Regions from separate parts of the Homo sapiens genome. Here regions 1, 2 and 4 are each linked to region 3. The links are contacts of gene promoters, found by promoter capture Hi-C in human tissues and cell types (Jung and others, 2019). All regions are on one chromosome and are shown on one strand. Each heading gives the region's core, a stretch centred on a gene start or on the middle of the fragment in contact. The rest is flanking DNA. Distances are from core to core; before and after follow the strand shown. Region 1 overlaps MAD1L1 (mitotic arrest deficient 1 like 1). Region 2 overlaps MAD1L1 (mitotic arrest deficient 1 like 1). Region 3 holds the start of NUDT1 (nudix hydrolase 1). Region 4 overlaps MAD1L1 (mitotic arrest deficient 1 like 1).

Region 1 (3,520 bases), core at 514-3,013, 200 kb before region 3:
CAAGTCGGGACAGAGCTGGGGTCCAGGCTCCCAGGCATGAGCGCGGGAGCACTGACAAGTTGGGACAGAGCTGGGGTCCAGGCTCCCAGGCATGAGCGCGGGAGCACTGACAAGTGGGGACAGAGCTGGGGTCCAGGCTCCCAGGCATGAGCGCGGGAGCACTGACAAGTCGGGACAGAGCTGGGGTCCAGGCTCCCAGGCATGAGCGCGGGAGCACTGACAAGTCGGGACAGAGCTGGGGTCCAGGCTCCCAGGCATGAGCGCGGGAGCACTGACAAGTCGGGACAGAGCTGGGGTCCAGGCTCCCAGGCATGAGCGCAGGAGCGCTGACAAGTCAGGACAGGGGAGGACGATGCATTCCTGCGCCACCTCCGTGCGGGGAACCAGAGCTCCAGCCTGAATCCCTTAGGGTTGGCTCAGAGTCCTCTCTGGATGAAGTGTCTAGTCTGAGGAGGACAATCCATCCGGTCGTGAGTTTGGACTCTTCCTACACACAAAGGCCAATATATCAAAATTAAATCCCACGGAAGCCCAGGTTGTCACTGGAGAGCATTCCCCAAGCTCCAGGCAGTGGTAAATCAGAGGCCTGAATCCACTGTGGGCCCTCTTTTGAACAGAAGACAAAAGGAAGAGCTTACCCCTAAAGGCAACCCAGCAACCCAGACGTGTGCCTGTCCCACCTCCCCAAGGCCAGGGCTCCTGATCAGAGGTGCTGTAAAGACTCAACAGCCCTGGCAGTACAGGGAGCCCAAGCAGGTGTCGGAAATGACACTGGGTACCTAGAATCCTAAGAACTAAGCTGTCTACAGATGCAGACCAACCAGGTGGGAGGTGGTCAGCTAGATCCCACCAACGCCACTCATACCCACCAACGCGCACGAGGCACGCTCCGCCTCCTGAACACTCCTCCCAGGGCTCCTCCAGCACTCCTCCCACAGCTCCCCCCACAGCACGAGCTTCCGCGTGCCCACCCACGCGCAGAAGACCTCCACCTGCCGCATGCTCCTCCCACAGCTCCCCCCACAGCATGAGCTTCCACGCGCCCACGAAGGTGTCCAGCCATGCAGCAAACGTGGATCAGGCCCAGGTACACATCAGATCTCACCGGTTCCAGTGCCTTCTGCCACGTGGAAATTTCGGCTCCTTCTTTGTCTTCTTAATAGACTCTTCTTTTTTTTTTTTTTTTTTAGAACGGGTTTAGATTTAGAAGAATGGAGAAGATGGTAGAGACTTTTCACATATTCCACACCCAGGTGCCCCACTGTTAACATCTTACACGAGCACAGTGTGCTGGCCACAATAAGGAGCCAGCATGGACCCAGGCACGCCTTGCTCTCCTGGACTACACAGATACTGTGCTTCTTACAAATGGAAGGCTTGTGGCCGTCCTGCCTTCGGCGAGGCACCATGTTCCCAACAGCATGTGCTCCCTACACGGCTCTGTCACATCTGGTAATCCTCATGGCGTTTCAGACATTGTATCACTATTATATCTGTTGTGGTCTGTAATGGGTGGTCTCTGATCTTACTACTGTCATTGATTCTGGGGCGCCACGTCCTGACTGTACTTCCGACATTGCATCACTGTTATGTCTGTTGTGGTCTGTGATCGGCGGTCTCCGATCTTACTGCTGTCATTGATTCTGGGACGCCACACACTATGCTCCTCAGACGGCAAAAGCTTCACCGACCAACGCTGCTTGTGTCTGGCTGCTTCACTGACCAGCCATCTCCCTCCCTCCCTCTCCTTGGGCCTCTCTATTCCCTGGGCGACACAACAGTATTAAAATCAGGCCAATTAATAACCCTACAACAGCCTCTAAGCATTCAAGAGAAAGGAAGAGTCGCATGTCTCTCCTTTAAACCAAAAGCTAGAAAGGATTAAGCTTAGTGAGGAAGGCGTGCCAAAAGCAAAGATAAGCCGAAAGCCAGGCCTCTCGTGCCAAACAGCTCGCCAAGTTGTGAATGCAAAGGGAAAGTTCTTGGAGGAAATTAAAAGTGCTGCTCCACTGAACACACCAACGATAAGAAAGTGAAACTGTCTTATTGCTGATACGGAGAAGTCTGAGTGGTCTGGATAGATCAAACCAGCCCCAACATTCCCTTAAGTCAGAGCAAGTTCCACGAGGCTGAGAGAGGTGGGAAAGCTGCAGAATTCAAGTCTGAAGCTAGCAGAGGTGGGTTCATGAGGTTTACATTAAGAGGCAGTCCCCATCACATAAAAGTACAAGGTGAAGCCGCAAGTGCTGACGGAGAAGCTGCAGCAAGTTCTCCAGAAGATCCAGCTAAGAGCACCAATGAAGGTGGCCACACTAAACACCAGATTTGCAGTGCACATAAAACAGCCTTCTGCTGGAAGATGCCGTCTAGGGCTTTTACAGTTACAGAGGAGAAGTCGATCCCTGCCTTCAAAGTTTCAGAGGACAAGCTGATGCTGTTAGGAGATAATGAAGCTGATGACTTTTTTTTTTTTTTTTTTTTTTTTTTTTGAGACACAGTCTCACTCATTCTGTCACCCAGGCTGGAGCACGGTGGCACAATCTTGGCTCACTGCAACCTCCGCCTTCTGGGTTCAAGCAATTCTCCTGCCTCAGCCTCCCAAGTAGCCGGGATTACAAGTGTGTGCCACCACGCCTCACTAATTTTTTGTATTTTTAGTAGAGACAGGGTTTCACCATGCTGGCCAGGATGGTCTCGAACTCCTGCTGACCTCAAGTGATCCGCCCACCTCGACCTCTCAAAGTGCTGGGATTCCATGCATCAGCTACTGTGCCTGATCTAAGCTTTTTATTTTGATCCAATTACAGATTCACTTGGAGCTATAAAAAATAATACAGAGATCACAAGTAGCATTCATCCAGTTCCTCCCAATAGCAACATCTGGCACAACTACAGCACAGTATCACAACCCGTATGCCGACAATGATACAGTCAAGATACAGCACATTTCATCACCACAAAAACCCCTCGGGTTGTCCGTTCACAGCCACGATTCCTCCTGTGCGTCTCCGTAACTCACGGCAGCCATCCACAGGCTGTCTATCACTTCAGCCTTTTAATAACGTCATGCAAATGGGATCATGCAGCACACGACCTTCAGGGACTGGGCTCTTCGCTCCGCTAAACTCCCTGGAGATCTATTCAAGTATGTTTATCCACAGTGAATTCCTTCTTAGTCCTGAGTATTACTCTGTGTGACGGAGGCACTACCGTTGTTTAACCATCACCACCGAAGGACATCAGAATTCTTTCCAGTTTTTGGCCATTATGCAAAAGCTGCTAGGAAGAGTCCTCTGTCGGGTTTTGTCCGAACCTCGGTTTTATTTCACTGGAATCGACACCCAGGAATGCGACTGCTGGTCATATGGGAGCTGCAGTGCAGTTTTTAAGAAACCCTCGAGCTGGTTCCAGGGTGGCTGCACCCTGTCACTCTCCCATCAGCAAGGCACCAGAGATGGAGTTTCTCTACACACTGACTGGCATCTGATGGTGTCCGTTTCTGAACTTTGACAGGTGTGCA
Region 2 (3,571 bases), core at 833-3,332, 170 kb before region 3:
TGGGCTCGCTGGGCCTCCATTCTACTGGGGTGGGAATCTCAAGCAAAGAAGCCACGCGTGTGGCATGAGCAGAGAATCTCACGGCGGGTGCAGGTACTGAGGTCACCGAGAGCAGAAGGAAGACCCTCAGGCGCCAAGGACGCAGTGACTTCAGGAAGCAGCTCCCAGCCCTTGGGCTGTGGGAACACGGGGCAGAGGCTGACATCATTAAAATGTAGACACTCAGAGATGGGCCCCATGGAACAGGAACTGAGGCTGCTGAGGGAGGCCATGCTGGTGTCTGCATGGGGACCCTGGAGGGCCTGGACCCAGGCCTCTGAGAACAGGGCAGCAGCCCATGGAGCTGGCACCTCTAGGCGCTACGGAATCTGCAGGCTGGCAGGCTGCTGGGAGGGGGCAAGGCCAGCGGCTAAAGAGCTGCCCCACTTGCCTGCAGGCTGACCCCGGGCCCTCTCCAGCGCCCCCAGGACAGGCACTCCCTGGCGAAGCGCAGGTGTGGGCTGCAGCCCTGGCACCGCAAAGTAGGGCTCAGAGAAGGGAGTGTGGAGCTGCGAGGCAACAACTCAGTAACCACAATGGGCAGAAGACAGGCCATCAGCAAACCAGCAAGCAGGTGCCTCCTGACACTGGAGGGGAAACCGGAGGCTGGGGGGGCCCTCGGGGAGGGGTGGCGGGACAGCCTGTGGTGTCAGAGACAGGCGGTGTCAGAGCCGGGGACGCTTCCAATGGGCAGCTGGCGTGCTCATTCGTGGTCAGCCCAGTGGGCCCGAGGTTGGGCCAACCGGGAGCAATGGGCAAGGTCACAAGAGGACGAGCAAACCAGGAACGGCCTCTGCACGGGACGTGGAGAGCGGGCTGAGCCAGAGGGGCAGGAAGGCAAGGAGCAGGCTGGCATGTGTCCATGAGGTGCCGGCGTCTCGAGAGGAGGGGAAGGTCCAGCAGAGGCAGCCCTGTCCTGAAGACCCGAGGAAGTGGCAATTAGGAGCCAAGCCCTGGAGGTGCAGGAAGGGCCGGCACAAAGTGGACGGCCCCAGAGTGCAGCCTAAAGGCCCCCCATCTAGCGTTTCAGACACCGCCAACAAGTGGTGCTGCCCACCCAGGCGTGCAGGTAGAGGCGCTCCGGCAAGATGGCCTCTGCCTCCCACCCCTCAGGCCCTGCAGGGCACCGGGACCCAGCACGCTGAGCCACAGCGGCACCAGCGACGGCGGGCTCTCCCCTGTTGGGGATGTTCTCTCTGTTCAATCCCGGCCTTTCTTCTGAGGTACAGAAGAGAAAACTCAAAAAATTAAGCCTCTAGTTCCATGCTTGGACTGAACTCTGAGGTCACTGGCATTTCCGTGAGCCTCTGGGAGTTCAGAATGAAGTTCTTAGTTCCTCAAGGAGAAGCCAGGCATGTTTATCAATCAATGGCTCTCTGAGCCAGCCTCTACTCAAAGAACAAGCTCTGAGCTTCTGAGCATCCATCTGCGCTGTGACCAGCCACTGCCGGCCACTTTAATGTGATCTTCATCAGAAACTCCCGGCCTAAGAATACCGACTTTCAAGGAACAACGAAAGGACACAATGTATCCCAAAGTGGCAGGAGACATTTTAACGACCTTCCTCAAGACACTGCTGAGCCAGCTCTTCCACGCACGACCCATTCCTCCCACACACTCTTTGTCTACCTTCTCCCAAGTCCCAGCCCACTGTGAGCACCCGCCAAGGCAAGGGCAGGCATCGCACAAACAGGCATCACTGGACTCTCCCCAGAAACCATGGGGCTCTGGAGCACAGGAGCCCACGGCGTGGCCACCGCGGGAGACAGGCTCTGAGAGAGGCCAGGACAGGTGGTGCTGGGGTCTAAGGCGAAGCAGTTGTGTGCTCCCGGGACCTGATCCGACCCTTGGGATGGTATGAGGCGGCTGTTCCCGCCCCAGTCACAAGGCTGAGTGGTGCCTGGAGTGTGGATCCACAGGGTATGAAGACGCCTCCACAGCCACGCCCGGGCCCAGGGCAAAACCAGCACGTTTTGGGCAGTGCACAGAATGCCTGTGTCGTCCCAAGTTCACCTGTGAAAACCCAGATCCCCAATGTGATGGTGACCAAACGGGGGCCCCTGAGAGGGCATTCGGTCCTGAGGGCGGAGTGCTCCCAATGGGATGCGCAAGTTGTAAGCAGCACAAAGCTCGAGTCCTCTCCCTCTGCCCTGTGAGGACAGGGGCTGGTCATCTGCAAACCAGGAAGAGAGCCCTCCTCAGACCCGGCACTGCCATCCTGCACTCCTCAGCTCCACAGCTGTGAGAAACGGACGTCTGTTCAGATCCCCGACTATGGTACTTTGTTAAGTGAGCCCGAACACAGACGGTCTCCTAACCCATAACGCCCAGACACACTGTTCACACATGGGCATGGGGTCACACCGAGGCTTCCGGGCTGATGACTGCCCCAACACAGTTATGACACAGTGAGCCCACAGCACAGTTAGCCTGCAGCACAGTGAGCCCGAGACACAGGTATGACACAGCGAGCACATGGCATGGTGACCCTGAGACAGGGTTACGACTTGGTGAGCCCGCAACATGGTGAGCCCAAGACGGTTACGACATGGTGAGCTCACGGCACAGTGAGCCTGAGATGGTTACGACACGATGAGCCCGCAGCACGGTCAGCCTGAGACGGTTACAACATGGTGAGCCTGTGGCACGGTGAGCCCAAGACAGGGTTACGACATAGTGAGCCCACAGCATGGTCAGCCCGAGACAGTTATGGCACAGTGAGCCCGCGGCACGGTGAGCCCGCAGCATGGTGAGCCCGAGACGGTTATGACACAGTGAGCTCACGGCACGGTGAGCCCGAGACAGAGTTACGACTTGGTGAGCCCGCGGCATGGTGAGCCCAAGACAGAGTTACGACTTGGTGAGCCCGCGGCATGGTGAGCCCGAGATGGTTACGACATGGTGAGCTCGCAGCACGGTGAGCCTGCCAGTGGCCTCAAGGGTTAAGATGTAAACACAGCCGCATGCACGGTGATCCTCAGTGATGACGTCTGGCATGAAACTAGGAAAATACTAATAAAATTGTATTCGAACCTTGGCAAAATCTCTAAAAGCACCTTTATTCTTAGCTATCTGAGGAACATAGATCAAGACCCACCCACAAGTATGATTTTTAATCATCTCGATTTTACAGATGAGTAAATTCAAGCCTTGAGCGACTGAGTCATGAGCATGAAGCCACCGTGTCCCCCAGGACACCACTGTACTGACCTCCAGGGTCTCCAGGGCCATGCCTTGAGCACCCCCATAGGGCTGGGGGGAGACGCCCCAGTCGGGCCAAGCAACAGCACTGCCACACAGGTGACACGTTCCATGTGTCTCTCAGGAAGAGAGCAAGTGCACGGGCTTGGCTGAGCCAGCGGTTGGGAGGGCTGCGACCCAGCGGGGAGCAGTGAACTCTAACTGGTGGCCTGGAGCAGGTACACGAGACAAAAAGCAGTGCCGTTCTGCAGGAGGCGCGCGGGAGCAGGAGACAAGGATCCAGGAGGCTAGCAGGGAGCAGAGGACAGGCTCCAGCCCCAGTGGACAGCCT
Region 3 (3,450 bases), core at 578-3,077:
CTTTTTTTCTTCTTTTTTTCGAGACAGGGTCTCGCTCTATAGCCCAGGCTGGAGTGCAGTGGTGAGGTCACGGTTCAACGCAGATTCGAACTCCTGGGCTCAAACAATCCTCTCACCTACATGTCTTAAATAAAATTGAACTAAACCTGTGTCAATCGTTGAAGGACAATTTCCAAGATTCTCTAGACAATTGTTACAATAAATGTAACAATTTATTCACAGCCCACAATAGCTAAGCAGGTGGAAGCTATACACACCTCCCCTTGTTTAACTCTGACAACAACCTCACCAAGGAAGTTCTATGTCCTCTTTTTCTTTTTTTAAGACGGAGTCTCACTCTGGCGCCCAGGCTGGAGTGCAGTGACAGCTCACTGCAGCCTCCGACTCCCGGGTTCAAGCAATTCTCCTGCCCCAGCCTCCCAAGTAGCTGGGATTACAGGCACACCTGCTACCATGTCCGGCTAATGTTTGTATTTTCAGTATAGATGGGTTCCACCATGTTGGCCAGGCTGGTCTCAAACTCCTGACCTCCGCTGATCTGCCCGCCTTGGCCTCCCAAAGTGCTGGGATTACAGGTGTAAGCCACTGCACCCAGGCATTTCTTTCTTCTTTTTGTTTTTTTAGAGACAGGGTTTTACTATTACCCAGGCTGGAGTGCAGTGGCATGATCACAGCTGACTGCAGCCACAGCCTCTGGGGCTCAAGTGAACCTCCCACCTCAGCCTCCTGAGTAGCTGAGACTACAGGTGTGTGCCACCACTTCCGGCTAATTTTTCTATTTTCAGTAGAGATGGGATTTCACCATGTTGGCCGAGCTGGTCTCGAACTCCTGACCTCTGGCGATCAGCCCACCTTGGCCTCCCAAAGTGCTGGGATTACAGGCGTGAACCACCTCACCCGGCCATTTTTGTTTTGCTATCATCCAGGCTGGAGTTGCAGTGGCACAATCACAGCTGATTGCTGCCATAACCTCTGGGTCTCAAGTGAACCTCCCACCTCAGCCTCCTGAGTAGCTGGGACTACAGGTGTGCACCACCATGCCTGGGCTAATTTTTTTTTTTTTTTTAATTCTTAAAAACCTTTTTTAGAGATGGCATCTCACTACATTGCCTAGGCTGGTCTCGAACTCCTAGGCTCAAACGATCCTCCTGCCTCAGACTTCCAAAGTGCTGGGATGACAGGTGTGGGCCACCAAGCCCGGTCTCTATGTCCATCTTTCTGATTTAAATAAATAAATAAAAGTTACCACCCTCATGGCTCCAAGGCCAAAGCTTCTAGCTTCTGCAACACCAAAGCGTGCTGACAAGCCAGGAGGCACTGACTGCTGACCGTGAGTCGCTGTCTTCCCCTCGCTTAAGGGGTCTCCCGGGAAAATGGCACAAGCCGGTCCCGGGGGCCAGGGCCCACTCGACAGCCCAGGAAGCGCGGGCAATGGAGCTACCCGGCCCAGAAGCGAAATCCCGCCCCGGGCTCGCCCCCGGCGCCTTGGATCTGGGCCCCGGCGCTGCGCCCCCCACCTGGACTCCGCCGCCGGCCCCGGCCTCCCCACGGCCCCGCCGGCCCTGCCCCTGGAGACCTGAGGGCGCCCTCCTCCCGGGGAACTGCGACCCGGAATCCTGGCCTCGCCCCTGTCGCGCTCGCTGAGTGCGGGGACGGTGCCCAGCGCTCGGCACCCAGCCCCGAGGCCAGGACCGAGGAAGGCGACCGGGCGGACCCCCAACCACTCCCGCTGTCTGCACGCGCAGCAGCAGCGCCCAGCTCACCCCGCCATTGGTGTTCCCCGCGCCTGCAGCGCGCCGCCGGAAGTGCCTGGCCTCACTTCCGGTCAGAGGCCACGCCCCCGGAAGCGGCGGTGCAGGTACGAAAAGCGCGCGCGGGGATTCCAGGAGTCGTGGTGACCAGGGAGGGGAGCCGGGCCAGCGGGCGGCAGGAGACTAGGGGAGCTGAGCCATGGGCTTGGGGGAGAGCGGGGCCGGGAGCTCGAAGGAGACCAGAAGAGCAGGGTCGGGGGCTCGAGGGAGACGAGGAGAGCGGGGCCGGGGGTTTGGGAGAGAGACAAGGAGAGCGGGGCGGAGGCTTGGGGGAGACCAGGAGTAAATCACAAAAATTTACTTTGGAAACCGTGGCTTCTGGCAGAAACAGATCAGTGTCGGGACAAAGTACACGGGCCTGGTGTGAAACTAAGCCACAAACCCATTTACCCTGTCTGACCTGCCTCCGCCACCAGGACCCAGTCTCAGTGAAATGGGAAAGGTTCCCTTGTCCTCCTCGAAGGGCGTGCGATGAGGATGTGGCTCACTTCTTCAGTGCCCCGCTTCTCAAGCCTCTAGGGGAACATACAGACAGGCAGGCTGAGGGGCTCCCACCCCACGGCAGTGTCTAGGGGTGAATGTTTGCAGCTCCTGAAGCCCCAGCAGGCATGTGTTAGAGGGTGCTCTTTCAGTTTAGCCTTGTAGGTGGCTTGTGTTAGTCAGCTGTTAGACTCCCTGCCTTATCGCAAGGACAGAGGGCTTTCTGTATCCCTAGGTTTCTTGCCTTGATGTACTGGAGCAATCAGATCACACGGCGGCTTGGAGAGTGAGTGCAAGGTTTTATGAGTGGAATTAGCCCTCAGCAGATGGGGGAGCCAGAAGGCAGTTGGAGTGGGAAGGTGATTTTCCCCTGGAGTCGGGCTGCTGAGCAGCCTGGGCTCTCCTCTGACCGCCCCTGCCAAACTCATGGTTCCATCAGTTGATGGCCTGCTGGTGCCTGTTGGTGTGCTTTCCACGTCCTCTTGACGTCCAGCGGCTTGTGTCTCTGCCCACTATAAAAAACCACTGGGGTTTTTTTATAGGCACAGGACGGGGACGTGGCGGGCTCGGGAAATGCAACATTTGGGCAAAAAAACAGAAATGCCTGTCCTCACCCAGGTCCCTGGGCACAGGCCTGGGTGTGGAGCCCTGGCCAGAGACCACGCCCTCCTCTACCCAGCACTTCCCTGCCCCCTTCCTTATCATCTGGTCCCTTTTCTCAGACACCACAACTTCCAAGAAGGATCACTGGTCCTGAACCCTGTGTCTTGTCCAGGTGTGGACCCCAGAAAAGTTGGTCCTGGCTGGGCGCAGTGGCTCACGCCTGTAATCTCAGCACTTTGGGAGGCTGAGGTGGGTGGATCGCTTGAGCTCAGGAGTTCGTGACCAGCCTGGGCAACGTGACAAAACCCCATCTCTACTAAAAATACAGAAATTAGCTGGGTGTGGCGGCTCATGCCTGTGGTCCCAGCTATGTGGGATGCTGAGGCAGGAGGATGGCTTCAGCCAGGGAGGCGGAGGTTACAGTGAACCGCGATCACGCCACTCTCCTCCAGCCTGGGCAACAGAGCAGGATCTTGTCTCAAAATAAATAAAGGAAAGTTGGTCCTGGCCCTCCAGCATTTCTCCAGGGTCCTTTTTTCAGCAGGGACCTGGCGGA
Region 4 (3,265 bases), core at 568-3,067, 220 kb before region 3:
TGCCCGGCCCAGCCCCAGCCACCCCCCACACAAGGCCACGCCTCGCCACCCTCCACCCACGCAAGGCCACGCCTCACCACCCCCAACGCAAGGCCACGCCTCGCCACGCCACAGTGCTGAGTGCACATGAGGCGGCGTCCCTGTGCTCGGCCCACGCCTGCTCCTGGGCCGGATGCCCTGGCCCCCACAACCAACTACAGAACGCTTCGCCTCCTGTCTGTCCCTCGCTTCTCTTTCCTGGGCCTGCTGCCCCTAAACGAGGTTTTTTTTTTTGACAACTGACTGTTTTCAAGTATGATTCACTCAGGCAGATTTTAATTGGTGACATCAGCACAGCATGCTAATGCTACATATGACTTAAGCACACGTTACCTCATTTGATCTTCAGAACCGCCAGGCAGGCACAGGGCTGAGGGAAGAGGACTCAGCAGCTGCGAGCTGTTGTGGCTGCCCTGTCGCTCAGACCACGGAGGGGCAGAGCCCCGGCTGGTGCTGCAAACAGAGGAGCCGCCCAGGCTGCGGCCCTACAGTCCCGGGGTCAGCGCCCAGCCCGGGGAGGCAGTGCCATGGACAGCCTCACTGGTGAGACCACTGGAAGTGGCTCTCCATGATCGGGGGGGGCACTAACCCCCGCTCTGGGCTGCCGGAAGGAGGAACTCACGAGGCCCGAGATTGCTATCCACAGCCCCAGCGTGACCCCAGCATTCCCATCAAGGCGTGCACCCGGCCCCGGCACCATGCGGCCCCCACCCTTGCCTTCCTGCGGCTCTGACCCTGCAGTTCCCAGCAGCCTTCAGAGGACGGAACGCCATGGGCACACGGCAGCTGTGAGACCGAGCCGCAGGGGGACGCCCGGCCCTGACATCATGGGAACAAGCTAGAGCAGAACACCATGAGGACCCCGCCTCTGTGAGAGCAAAGCCAGCTCCCTGGGTCCTCTCTCACCTGCCCGGGCTGCCCTGGTACCCGGAGTCTAGGGGCCTCCTGGGAGGGAGGCTGACCCGGTGGCTGTGGGCAGAGACGAAGGAAAACATCGGACGGACTTCAGGCACTAGTTAAAAACACACACAAGACAGGAGAAACTTCATCTGAGACGACAGCGGCCTAAGCAAAAAGAATACTTTTTTTTTTTTTTAAGACAAGGTCTTGCTCTGTCGTCTAGGCTACGGTGCAGTGGCACAATCTCAAGAATGAATAACTTAGAAGAAAATGTATTAATTTAATGGTTAGAGTAGAAAGGCTAAAACTGAAAGTAGCAAGCTAACTAACCAACATAAAAAATGAAAAAAAACAAAACAACATATGCAGAAAGTATAGGAATAAAAATAAAGATGAGAGCATAAATGAGCAAATGTAAAAACAGGTCCACAGAAACTTCCCGTACTAAAATGCACTGAGGAAAAAGCAATGAAAACAAAAGAAGAGGCGACCTAAGAACAGTGGGATGACCGTGAAGGTGGAACCTACTCATGACAGGAAAACCAGAAGGAGAAGGAGGCGAGGAGCGAACACAGTAAGTATCTGCCGTGATAATGGCCGAGATTTGTCAAATCTAAACCCCAGATCCAGGAAGCTCAGAGAACATCAAGCAGGAAAAATACCAAAAACTCCACACTTAGCCATATCATATTCAACTGTGGAAAATAAGACAGCCTGAGAAGGGAGAGCCCTTCATTATCAACCAAGAGAGTGAGAAATGCATCAGACCTCCTGACCGAAGCCACTCAGGCAGCAGAGAGGGGAGGGAGGTATCCAAGTACTGAAACAAAACAGCACCAGCCTGGAATTCTGCATCCAGCAAGATGATCTTCTGTAAGAAAAGCAGAAAGAAAAACTCTCAGCGGGGCACACTGGCTCACACTTGTAATCTCAGCACTTTGGGGAGCCAAGGCAGGCAGATGGTCTGGTGTCAGAGGAGTTTGAGACCATCCTGGACAATGCGGCGAAACCTCGTCTCTACTGAAAGTAGAAAAGTTAGCTGGGCATGGTAATAGGCGCCTGTAATCCCAGCTACTCGGGAGGCTGAGGCAGGAGAATCGCTTGAACCCAGGAAGTGGAGGCTATAGTGAGCCAAGATCGCACCACTGCACTCCAGCCTGGGCAACAGAGTGAGACTCTGTCTCAAACAAACAAACAAACAAAAAACACTCTCTTAGACAAACGAAAACTGGGGGAGATTGGTCATTGGCAGCCCTGGCCCCTGTAAGCAGTGTGAGGTGGATTCTCCAGAGAATCCCATGAGAGGTCAGAAACTCAGATCTATGTGGAAAGACAGAGCAGAGAAGTAACAAATAAGGAAAAATAAAATCTACTTTATTCATCTGTTTTTTTCGAGACAGAGTCTCACTCTGTTGCCCAGGCTGGAGTGCAGTGGTGTGATCATAGCTCACTGCAACCTCTACCTCTGGGGCTCAAGTGATCCTCCCACCTCAGCCTCCCAAGTCGCTGGGACTGCAGCTGTGAGCCGCTGAGCCTAGCTTACTTTCCTTAGTCTCGTTCATCTAATGGACGATTGTTTGAAGTATAGGAGCAGCAATGTGTGGGGTGACGATGGTGCAGGGATGGGTGAAATGAAGCAGCAGGTGGCACGGGAGGCAAGGGGAATGGGCGTGTTCTGCGGGAGGCGCCCACCCTGCCTGTGACCTGGTCAAAGGCCATCTGACCATGGGCTTAGATTCATGCTAAATGTATGCTGCAAACTCTAGGATAATTCTGTGCTTGGCTCATGCCTGTAATCCCAGCACTTTGGGAGGCTGAGGCAGGTGGATCACCCGAGGTCAGGAGTTCAAGACCAGCCTGGCCAACATGGCGAAACCCTGTCTCTACTAAAAATACAAAAATTAGCCGGGCATGGTGGCAAGATCACGCCACTGTACCCCAGCCTGGGCGACAAGAGCAAAACTCTGTCTCCAAAAGAAAAAAAAAATTCTGTGCTAACAGAATTAAAAAATTAAATCATATAACATGCTCAGTTAAAACCAAACAAAGCAGATAAAGAAAAGAAGATTTAAAAAAAACAAAGAACAAGTGTCCCAATAGAAAAGAGTAACAAACATGGCAGGTATTAACAGTATCAACGATCATTTCGAATGTGAATGATCTAAACACACCAATTAAAAGACGGTCAGGATGGATTAAAAAAACAAGACCCAATTATATGCTGTTTATAAGGAACCCACTTAAAATATAAACACACTTTGAAAGGAAAGGAAGAAAGCTAGACCACACTAAGCCCAAATAAAAGAACGGTGGAGCAGCTTGATCA

The links. The method cuts DNA at HindIII sites, captures the fragments that hold promoters and counts their contacts. A contact is called where the count stands out against the background at its distance.
Region 1: a fragment that was not itself captured here is called in contact with the fragment with the promoter of NUDT1 in region 3 in 2 of the 25 tissues and cell types used here (mesenchymal stem cells and mesendoderm cells).
Region 2: a contact is called between a fragment that was not itself captured here and the fragment with the promoter of NUDT1 in region 3, in 1 of the 25 tissues and cell types used here (lymphoblastoid cells).
Region 4: a contact is called between a fragment that was not itself captured here and the fragment with the promoter of NUDT1 in region 3, in 2 of the 25 tissues and cell types used here (lymphoblastoid cells and spleen).

The regions. Positions count from the first base shown.
Region 1 is chr7:2,036,038-2,039,557 of GRCh38, forward strand. The region is part of intron 12 of MAD1L1 (mitotic arrest deficient 1 like 1); the gene reads right to left. Among named protein-coding and RNA genes, the nearest start is that of SNORA114, 51 kb to the right of the region's middle. The HindIII fragment of the contact is 3,001 bases long and covers 264-3,264 here.
Region 2 is chr7:2,074,191-2,077,761 of GRCh38, forward strand. All of the region lies in intron 11 of MAD1L1 (mitotic arrest deficient 1 like 1), which reads right to left. Among named protein-coding and RNA genes, the nearest start is that of SNORA114, 13 kb to the right of the region's middle. The HindIII fragment of the contact is 9,448 bases long and covers 1-3,571 here.
Region 3 is chr7:2,240,399-2,243,848 of GRCh38, forward strand. NUDT1 (nudix hydrolase 1) reads left to right here and starts at 1,828. Exons shown (of 4, transcript NM_002452.4): 1 at 1,828-1,858. MRM2 (mitochondrial rRNA methyltransferase 2) reads right to left here and starts at 1,807. Exons shown (of 3, transcript NM_013393.3): 1 at 1,764-1,807. The coding sequence starts at 1,771. RefSeq lists an enhancer at 340-1,191 and a silencer at 1,514-1,733. The HindIII fragment of the contact is 10,120 bases long and covers 1-3,450 here.
Region 4 is chr7:2,019,642-2,022,906 of GRCh38, forward strand. All of the region lies in intron 12 of MAD1L1 (mitotic arrest deficient 1 like 1), which reads right to left. Among named protein-coding and RNA genes, the nearest start is that of SNORA114, 68 kb to the right of the region's middle. RefSeq lists a silencer at 1-20 and enhancers at 161-310, 352-1,171. The HindIII fragment of the contact is 8,467 bases long and covers 1-3,265 here.